Linked DNA regions of Homo sapiens: region 1 is linked to region 2. The links are contacts of gene promoters, found by promoter capture Hi-C in human tissues and cell types (Jung and others, 2019). All regions are on one chromosome and are shown on one strand. Each heading gives the region's core, a stretch centred on a gene start or on the middle of the fragment in contact. The rest is flanking DNA. Distances are from core to core; before and after follow the strand shown. Region 1 overlaps MEAF6 (MYST/Esa1 associated factor 6). Region 2 holds the start of DNALI1 (dynein axonemal light intermediate chain 1).

What was found. The method cuts DNA at HindIII sites, captures the fragments that hold promoters and counts their contacts. A contact is called where the count stands out against the background at its distance.
Region 1: a contact is called between a fragment that was not itself captured here and the fragment with the promoter of DNALI1 in region 2, in 1 of the 25 tissues and cell types used here (spleen).

The regions. Positions count from the first base shown.
Region 1 is chr1:37,490,458-37,495,328 of GRCh38, forward strand. It overlaps MEAF6 (MYST/Esa1 associated factor 6), which reads right to left. Exons shown (of 7, transcript NM_001270875.3): 7 at 1-3,650. The coding sequence ends at 3,642. Among named protein-coding and RNA genes, the nearest start is that of MIR5581, 8.1 kb to the right of the region's middle. The HindIII fragment of the contact is 5,415 bases long and covers 262-4,871 here.
Region 2 is chr1:37,553,484-37,558,989 of GRCh38, forward strand. It overlaps DNALI1 (dynein axonemal light intermediate chain 1), which reads left to right and starts at 3,457. Exons shown (of 6, transcript NM_003462.5): 1 at 3,457-3,592; 2 at 4,120-4,265. The coding sequence starts at 3,512. It overlaps SNIP1 (Smad nuclear interacting protein 1), which reads right to left and starts at 810. Exons shown (of 4, transcript NM_024700.4): 1 at 523-810. The coding sequence starts at 746. It also overlaps the pseudogene RPS27P9. RefSeq lists a silencer at 533-592 and enhancers at 2,064-3,034, 3,245-3,539. The HindIII fragment of the contact is 4,106 bases long and covers 3,268-5,506 here.

The DNA.
Region 1 (4,871 bases), core at 1,719-4,218, 64 kb before region 2:
GTACAAAGAAGCACAATCCTGCTCTCTCCCCACACTTCACATAAACCAGTATAGTCCCCCTGTAGTCAAGGCTTCAGATGTCAATTTTCTGTTGGAGACAGCGTCTTGCTACGTTACTCAGGCTGAAGTGCAGTGGCCATTCACAGAAATGATCATAGCATACTGTAGCCTTGAACTTCTGGCTTCAAGCGATCCTGCTGCCTCTAAGCCTCCCAAGCAGCTGGGACTAAAGGTGCATATCACCATGCCCAGCTTGATGTGAATTTTTAAGCAATAATGCCTCATTAGGCCGGGTGCAGTGGCTCACGCCTGTAATCCTAGCACTTTGGGAGGCTGAGGCAGGTGGATTACGAAGTCAGGAGTTTGAGTCCAGCCTGGCCAATATGGTGAAACCCGGTCTCTATTGAAAATAAAAAAAAACTAGCTGGGTGTGGTAGCACGCGCCTGTAGTCTCAGCTACTCGAGAGGCTGAGGCGGAATAATTGCTTGAACCCTGGAGGCGGAGGTAGCAGTGAGCCAAGATTGTGCCACTGCACTCCAGCCTGGACGACAGAGCAAGACTCTGTCTCAAAAAAATAAATAAATAAAATAATGCCTCATTAATTTGGAGTAAGGTTGGGGGGCATAGAAGACAGAATAAATGCAAAAACTAAGTCACAGAGTGTTTCAAGCTTAGGCTCTTTAACTTTCAAGCTTAGACTATTTATCGCTCATTTTAATTATCTTCTTTACTGCACAGGTCAAGATGTCAAGAATACTCTATATTGCCAGGTGCCAGGGCTCATGCCTGTAATCCCAGCACTTTGGGAGGCTGAGGTGGGTGGATTACCTGAGGTCAGGAGTTCGAGACCAGCCTGCCCATCATGGCAAAACCCCATCTCCACTAAAAATACAAAACTTAGATGGGCATGGTGGTGCATGCCTGTAGTCCCAGCTACTGGGGAGGCTGAGGCAGGAGAATTGCTTGATACCTATAATCCCAGCACTTTGGGAGGCCAAGGCAGAAGGACTGCTTGAGGCCAGGAGGACTGCTTGAGGCCAGCCTGGGCAACATAGCAAGAAGCCATCATTACAAAATAAAAATGTTTTAAATTAGCTGGGAATGGTGGCATGCACCTATAGTCCCAGGTACTAGTAAGGCTGAAGCAGGAAGATGGCTTGACCCCAGAAGTTCGAGGCTGCACTGAGCTTTGATCAGGCCGCTGCACTCCAGCCTGGGTGACAGAGCAAGATCCTGTCAATAAATAAATAAATAAATAAATAAATAAATAAAATATATAAATACTTAAATAATCTTTTTAAGAGCAGTACTATTCTGTCTCCAGCAATGTCAAACTATGAGAGTCAAAAATATTTTAAGGTCTGCTGTGTGCTTTCCTCAGAGGGAAGGAAACTAGGCATCCCACTGCAGTTTCATAAATACGTAAATAATCTTTTTAAGAGCAGTACTATTCTTTCTTTTTTTTTTTTTTTTTGACAGAGTCTCGCTCTGTCGCCCAGGCTGCTGGAGTGCAGTGGCGCAACAGAGCAGTACTATTCCATCTCTAGCAATCTCAAACTGTTAAGAGTCAAAAATATTTTTTTTTTTTGAGATGGAGTCTCGCTCTGTCGCCCAGGCTGGAGTGCAGTGGCACTATCTCAGCTCACTGTAAGCTCCGCCTCCCAGGTTCATGCCATTCTCCTGCCTCAGCCTCCCGAGTAGCTGGGACTACCGGCACCCGCCACCACGCTCAGCTAATTTTTTGCATTTTTAGTAGAGATGGGGTTTCACTGTGTTCGCCAGGATGGTCTCGATCTCCTGACCTCGTGATCCGCCCGCTTCGGCCTCCCAAAGTGCTGGGATTACAGGTGTGAGCCACCGCACCCAGCCCAAGAGTCAAAAATATTTTAAGGTCTGCTGTGTGCTTTCCCCAAAAGGAAGGAAACTGTAGGCATCCCACTCCTCCCTCCCAGCAAAGGAGACCAACAGACAAAAAATACAGAATGCTTCTAGGATTTTTTTTTTTAAGGAATAATCTAAATATAAGAAACTATTTCCTTAAAAATCCTGACACTGGAGTTCTGCTACCAAAGACACAGTCAAAGATCTAAATAGCCAGAGTCAAAAAAAAAAAAAAAAAAAAACCCACAAAAGTTTATTTGAGAACAAGAGTGAAAGCTTTTGCACATCTGACAAGGTAGACTTGTTTTACAGTAGATGCCATCCATATTCAGCCCTACCAATACTATCACAAATGAAACATACTATTTCTTACAAAGATATAGGCATAAGTCAAGGACTATGACTAACTAGAGTGAAAGGAAAGGTTAGACCCCAAATCTTATCCCTTAGACCAATCATAACATAGGATGTAAATTAAACCATTCAGTCTTCTAATGTAGTGGTTCTCAACCTGGCTTCTTATCAGAATCCCAGGAACTCTTTTAAAGAAATTCCCAATAACTAGGCTGTACCCCAGTCTCTAGGGATGGGATCCAGGCATGAGTATTTTAAAGCTTCTCAGGTGATTCCAATGTGCAGCCAGACCCTGTCGCAAGTTCACCACAGCACTAGAGGCAGGTAACGATTACTAGCAGATTCCTCAGCCCCAACAAGCCCTCCAAGAAAGGGAGACCTGGTGGGCAACACTGGCTCTCACTGATGCTATCCTTTCACTCCACTTAAGAACGACATAAGTTATCACTTTTGGTATAATTTTGAGACTTTCCATATGCCATGGTGATTTTTAGAGCAATATTTAATCAGGTGAATACCAGCAAAGAGAGAAAATACAGAAAAAGAAATTTCCATAAGGCATGATATGAATAAATAAGTGAAAAAACAATCTCGGGTTTAAAAGTAAAGCATGAGAATTTGAAGCCTGTGAAATTTTATTTATACAAAAGAATAAAAAGTTATTTAAAAAGAACTGATTTAAACTTATGTTTTTCCATTTTTCCTGTTCCTTGAACATGAATCTACTACCAACTCAGAAAGATTTAAGATAGGTAATTACTAAACACTCTTTACCTCCCCTTGCAAAAAACAGAGGCAAGTTTCCCATTTTACTTATGATAAACCAGATTATTTTCAGTTATGAATATTGGCAACTGCATGAAAGAGATGATCAGATATGTCAGCAGGAAAGTATGAGCTGTACAAAGGCATTACAAAAAAACCCCAAAGAAAATAAGATAAAAACAACAAGAGAAAAACAAGAAAACATAAAACAATATAAGAAAATGCCAGATATTTACAGCCTCCATCTGAAATGTGACTTGTGTTCTACTTTCAGCATAAAACAAAACCAGAGAACATTTCTTGAAGGGTATCACAGATGAAGCTGGTGCCAGCCAGTTTTGGGGGAGACATTCATTCTAAGAAGGGAGAAACGCACAGTTAGCAACTTGCTGGGATTACAACATTGTCTTCATCTTCCTGCAGTTCTGTTACTAAAAATGACATAAAGTAAGACCCAATGTCTTACAGAAATGACTTGTTTGTCACCACATTTAGAACAAACTACTCAAAGTCACAGGCACTGGGTCTGGGAGAGCAGAGGTGGATGGCCACGAACTCAGGTGAAGGATGTTTATCTTTGTGAGGTCAGAGAAGGGAAGCAGGGCTCTACAGCCTGGAAGCTTCTGCACTAATGTGTCTTCTAATAGTCCTAAAGAAAGAAAAACAAAAGTCCCAACTTACTCTCGGCAGAACAGTTGTTTGACCCTAAAGGAAAAAAAAAATCTCATAAACAACTCTACTAGGGGACTGCTCTATAGCTAAAGATTATATTTCAGGCCAGGCACAGTGGCTCACACCTGTAATCCCAGCACTTTGGGAAGCCGAGGCAGGGAGATCACGAGGTCAGGAGTTCGAGACCAGCCTGGCCAGCATAGTGAAACCCCGTCTCTACTAAAAATACAAAACATTGGCCAGACATGGTGGTGGGCACCTGTAATTCCAGCTACTCAGGAGGCTGAGGTGGGAGAATCGCTTGAACCTGGAAGGCGGAGGTTGCAGTGAGCCAAGATCGCGCCATTGCACTCCAGCCTGGGTGACAAGAGTGAAACTCTGTTTCAAAAAAAAAAAAAAAAAAAAAGATTGTATTTCAGGCCAGGCGTGGTGGCTCAGGCCTATAATCCCAGCACTTAGGGAGGCCCAGGCGGGCAGATCACTTGAGGTCAGGAGCTCGAGACCAGCCTGGGTAACAAATTAAGACCATGTCTCTACAAAAAACACAAAAATTAGCCAGGTGTGGTGGCTCATGCCTGTGGTCTCAGCTACCCAGGAGTCTGAGGTGGGAGGACGGCTTGAGCCTGGGAGGCAGAGGTTGCAGTGAGCCAAGATCACACCATTGCACTCTAGCCTGGGTGACAGAGCCAGACCCTGTCACACACACAAAAAAAAAATTTAAAAAAAGATTCTATTCCAAATATAATGTACAATATTTCACATCTGAAAATGGTCTGCCTTCTGAGTCCATAAAGGGATTGAAACATCAATTTTGCTCTTATTAGAGCACCTGAATTCACCAGTCCAAAAAAAAAAAGAGCTAGTATTAACAATTTATTATTTAATTAAAGGGAATTTTTCATCATTAAAAATGTATGTGACCGGCCGGGTGCGGTGGCTCACGCCTGTAATCCCAGCACTTTGGGAGGCTGAGGCGGGTGGATCACGAGGTCAGGAGTTTGAGACCAGCATGACCAACATGGTGAAACCCTGTCTCTACTAAAATACAAAAACTAGCTGGGCATGGTGGCACGCACTGTAATCCCAGCTACTCAGGAGGCTGAAGCAGGAGAATCACTTGAACCTGGGAGGCGGAGGTTGCAGTGAGCCAAGATTGCACCACTGCACTCCAGCCTGGGCAACAGAGCAAGACTCCGTC
Region 2 (5,506 bases), core at 2,207-4,706:
CCCTTGCAGCCCCAATACCTAGGGCAGTCTTTAACACTTAATAGGCACTCAGTAAAACTATGGTGAATGAATGCATAAATAAATGAGTCTAGCAAGAAGTAACTTTTTTTTTTTCCCCAGTTTCTGTTAGGTAGCTCGCTTAGACCTCGATGTGAAAACCTTTCTGGCAGGTAACCGGAAAGACAACGCCCACACTCCATTTGTGGGAGGGATGGGGAAAATCTCAATCCAATTTAACAGATTATCAGTGCTATCTGTTGGGCCACACTCTTCGAAGTGCTAGGAACACAAGAATGAAGGAGTGGGATCCTGCCGGTTAGTCATTAGGCGTTGAACACCGAGCTATAATGCAAGTGACAGAGCAAGCATAACACAAGCACGACTGGATCACTCTCAACAGCCCCTCAGGATTAAGTCCGGGCTGCTGCGCCCACCATTCAAAACCTGTTTCGGACGCTAGCCCTGCCCGCCTTTCTGAATGAGCCCAACCCAATGTCCATCCTGGACTGCTCCCCCACTTACCGGCTAACTCCTCGGGCTCGGTTCCCGCGGTGGCCCGAGCGGGCCGGCTCGCTGGTCGGCGGAGACGGGCTACCACCGGAGTGGTCCGGACGGCGGTGGGCGGGAGGTGCGACTTCTGGGCTGAGACGCTCCTGCTTCACCACCACCCCCGCCGGCAGCACCACGTCCCCGTCCCGGTGTCTTCGCCGGCTCCCTCGCTCCCGTTCGCTCTTCACCGCCTTCATTCTGTGATTTTGGCTGGGCGAAAGAAAACAGATCAGTTGAGCTCCTCTAGCTGGAGGAAATGACGAGTTTAACTCCTGGACTTCCGCTTCCGGGGTGCCCAGGCTCCCAGAAATCCTCGCGGCAAAGGTTAAACACGTGACTACTCCCTAGTGGGTGTGGCCGCAGCGACAGGCTTGGGTGGCGGGAGTTTCAAGTTTCAAAAACAAACTTCTGGCTGGGAGTGGTGGCTCACGCCTGTAATCCCAGAACTTTGGGAGGCCGAGGCTGACGGATCACTGAGGTCAGGAGTTAGAGAACAGCCTGGCCAACATGGCAAAACCCCGTCTCTACTAAAAATACAAAAATTAGCCGGGTGTGGTGGCGCGCACCTGCAATCCCAGTTACTCGGGAGGCTGAGGCAAATGAATCACTTGAACTGGAGGCGCAGGTTGCAGTGAGCAGGGATCTCACCACTGCACTCCAGCCTGGGCAACAGAGCGAGATGTCTCAAAAACAAACAACAACAAAAACTGGGAAAAAGCAAACCTCTCAAGGCTGTTTGTTGCCACATTATTAGTAATTACAAAACGTGGAAACAATGTAAATACCAGCAGTAGGGAAGTTAGCCAAATTAATGGGTGTTATGTGGCCATTAGTAAACCATTTACAAACTTTAAAAACCCTGACTTGTTAACGATAAAGCAGGATACAAAATTGTGTGCAAACTATAATTACATTTACATTTGGAAATAGAAGGGAGGAAGAAATGGAAATGCAATCAGAGATGATAACCCATGGGCAAATCATTAGCTTTTCAAATCATTAGCTTTTCCTCTTCTATTTCCTGAACTTTCTGCAATGCTGTTGGGGCTCAGAAACCAAAACCCCAAAATACGGCTCACTGACAAGCTGAACTGAAGAAGCCTCAATGTTCCTTTCCAGTGCCCATCATCTCTCCCAAAGCACAGGTCTTTATCTGCCTAAGATCCAGACTACCAAAAGGAATAATTGTTTCTTTCTTCTCCACCCAAGAATGTAATCACACCTGACCAGAGACCCTTATACTGTCAAAAGTAGCTATTTACAGCCGAGCACGGTGGCTGCAGCCTGTAATTCCGGCGCTTTGGGAGGCCAAGGCAGGAAAATCGCTTGAAGCCAGGAGTTTGAGACCAAACTGCCTAACATAGCAAGACTGTCTCTACAAAAAAATTAAATTTGGCAGGGGCTAGTGGCTCGTGCCTGTGGTCCCAGCAGAGACAGGAGGATCGCTTGAGCCCAGGAGTTGGAGGCTGCAGTGAGCCGTGATGGCACCACTGCACTCCAGCCAGGGCTACAGAGTGAGACCCTGTCTTCAAAAAAACCAAACCAAAACAAAAAAAAAAACACAAAAAACTATTTACAAATTTATCTCTGTTCCCTTATTCATTCATTCTGCCTAGTAATCCCTGAACAGAATTCCTCCTTCTCCCACCCTCACAAACCTGTTTTACCAGGAGGGTATATAAGCTTCTGAACCCTTTTCGGGGTGGGTAATCATACTGTGATTCTCCCCGTGTATACATTTTAAATACATTTGTATGCCTTTTCTCCAATTAATCTGCCTTTTGTGAATTGATTTTTGAGCGAATCTTCAGGGGGCAAAGGGGAGGTTTCCCATTGGCTCCTACTTTGTCATTTCTCCATTTAATTAGAAAAATACTTCAGGCTGGGCGCGGTGGCTCACGCCTGTAATCCCAGCACTTTGGGAGGCCGAGGCAGGCGGACCACGAGGTCAGGAGTTCGAGACCAGCCTGGCCAACGTGGTGAAACCCCGTCTCTACTAAAAATACAAAATTTAGCCGGGCATGGGGGCACGCGCCTGTAGTCCCAGCTACTCAGAAGGCTGAAGCAGGAGAATCGTTTGAACCCGGGAGGCGGAGGTTGCAGTGAGCCGAGATCACGCCACTGCACTTCAGCCTGGGCAACAGAGAGAGACTCCGTCTCAATTTAAAAATCAAAACAAGCCCTTTCTTGCGGTGACGACCTACCCACGAGAACATGCCTCTCGCAAAGGATCTCCTTCATCCCTCCCCAGAAGAGGAGAAGAGGAAACACAAGAAGAAACGCCTGGTGCAGAGCCCCAATTCCTACTTCATGGATGTGAAATGCCCAGGATGCTATAAAATCACCACAGTCTTTAGCCATGCACAAACGGCAGTTTTGTGTGTTGGCTGCTCCACTGTCCTCTGCCAGCCTACAGGAGGAAAAGTAAGGCTTACAGAAGGATGTTCCTTCAGGAGGAAGCAGCACTAAAAGCACTCTGAATCAAGATGAGTGGGAAACAATCTCAATGAACACATTTTGGGAACAACTACAACAACAAAAAAAACCTTCAAAAAACCTAGGAACTCCAGATGACTTCCTTTGGGAATTGTCCCTTAACCCTTCATGAGAAGTCAGGAGATGACTCCTGTTTTTCAGGTGACAAAATTGGAGCATGGCAAAGGTGATCTGCCCACTTCAAATCGCTAGCTAGACGGAGCATAGGGACTCGAACTGCCGTTTTCCTCGCCTCCAAGAGTACAGGGACGAACCGGTGAGCAGAAGGCCTAAGAAGTCAGGCACAAGAGGTTTCTGCCCAGGAGGCACAGAATGAAACTTGCCGGCTGTTGGCCCCGCCCCACTTCGAAGCTCCGCCCAGGCCAAGAAGCGCGGGGGCGGGAGTGAGGGGGCGGTTTCCATGGTGACGGCAAACAAGGCCCACACTGGACAGGGCAGCTGCTGGGTTGCTACTCTCGCCTCCGCCATGATTCCGCCCGCAGACTCTTTGCTCAAGTACGACACCCCAGTGCTGGTGAGCCGGAACACGGAGAAACGGAGCCCCAAGGTAAAGACGGGGGCTCGGGAGACAAAGGAGCCTCGAAACTCCGATAGGGAAAGACACATTCCCGCATGGAGGGTCAGGAATCTCAAGGGACGGGGATTGCAGCGACTGGGAGTAAAGGGAATTGGGAAGTCAGAGAAGGAGGGTGAGAGGATTGTATAGGAAGCCCAGATGTTGGGTGTGACCCCAGAGGGCAGATTTAGGATGGGGAAGGAGGTCACAGGGAGATGGATGGGGCTCACTCTTCTTAATGGTACGCGGGTCCAAGAACAGATGACTAGGTAGTGATTTCCCCATCACCAGAGGTGTGAAAGCACATGCGCCAGAAACACCTGTTCAAGCATTGAGTTGGGGCCAGACTTCATGGCCTCCTTCAGCTCTGTGACATAATTTCTGCTGAGAAGACCGACCCAAAGTAGGCTAGGAAGAGGGGAGGGCTGTGCAGAAGACCTGGAGCAATATACAGGTTGGGGATGTGTGGAGCTGAGCTCCTGAACAATTTCCTGCCCTCACCTGTGCCTTCATCTCAGGCTCGGCTACTGAAAGTCAGCCCCCAGCAGCCTGGACCTTCAGGTTCAGCCCCACAGCCACCCAAGACCAAGCTCCCCTCAACTCCCTGTGTCCCAGATCCTACAAAGCAGGCAGAAGAAATCTTGAATGCCATACTACCCCCAAGGTAAGAAAGTAGGAGCAGTGGCTGGGAGAAGGCCTAAGCTTTTACATCGTGGATTTTGGGAGTGTGGGGGGAGGCACTCTGCCTCTGTTCCTGGCTGGGGTTTCCTCCCAGTATCACAGAGCTCCTAGAACTTACATATGGCTGGATCCTGGCAGGGTGGTGGGAGACCTCTTCTCAATCTACCCTCATTTCCTGCATGCTGTCACCCAATCTCATGGCTTTAGATACCACCTATGTGCTGATGGCTCCCAAATGTGTATTTCCAGCCCTGTCTTCTCCACTAAACTCCAGGACCATATAGTCTTCTGCTTCCTCATTATCTTCATGAAGATATCTAATAGACATCTCAAACTCAATATATTCAAACTAAATCACAATTTCTTCCTTCCCCAATCTGCTCATCCCCCGTATTCTCCTTTTTACTAGGGACTCAAACCACCTTTCATTCCTTTTGATCACTCTCACAGCATGTGTCCTATCCTTCGTCACATTCTTTTGGCTCCACCTTCAAATTCTTTCCCAAATCCAACCACTTTTCACCACCTCTGCTTCCACCATCTTGCTCCTAGTCACTGGTGGCCACTCGCACTGCTGCAGTGGCCTCCTATCTGAAAACACTGCTTCCACTCTGCTCCTAGAATCTATCCTCCATACAGCCCCTAAGTCATAAGTCAGATCATGCCAGTCTCTGCCAGAAACTCTTTTGTGGCTTCCCATCTCAGACTAAAATCAAAAATCCTTACAATGGCCTGGAAGATGTGGCATGATCTGGCCTACGATGTATCCCTGACCTTATCTCCTGTTATTCTGTTTCTTGTTCACTGTGCTGAATCCACAGGGACCTCACTTGCTATTTCTGAAATGCCTCATTCACTCTCCTACCACAGGGCCCTGACAGCTGGTGTTTTCACTGCCAAAGATGTTCTCCCCTTGATATTCTCCTGGTTCCTTTCATTTCTTCCAGGCCTTCCTTGAGAATTTGCTATAGCAGAGCACCCCTGCCCAACATGATCTCCTTTTCTTGCTTTTTTCTTCTGCAGCCACATTGATAAAAGGACATGCCTTTTCATCTATTTTTATGTAATAAGTTGACAGCACAGTTGGTAAGGCTATGAGGAAAAGGGAAATGGGGGCCTACGCAGGCACACACCTTCATGAACCTCTCCACCCCGATACACACATCTGCCTCTTTCTGGCTCGCACAAGGTTCATGATGTCCTGTGTTTCCCACCCCGTAAGTT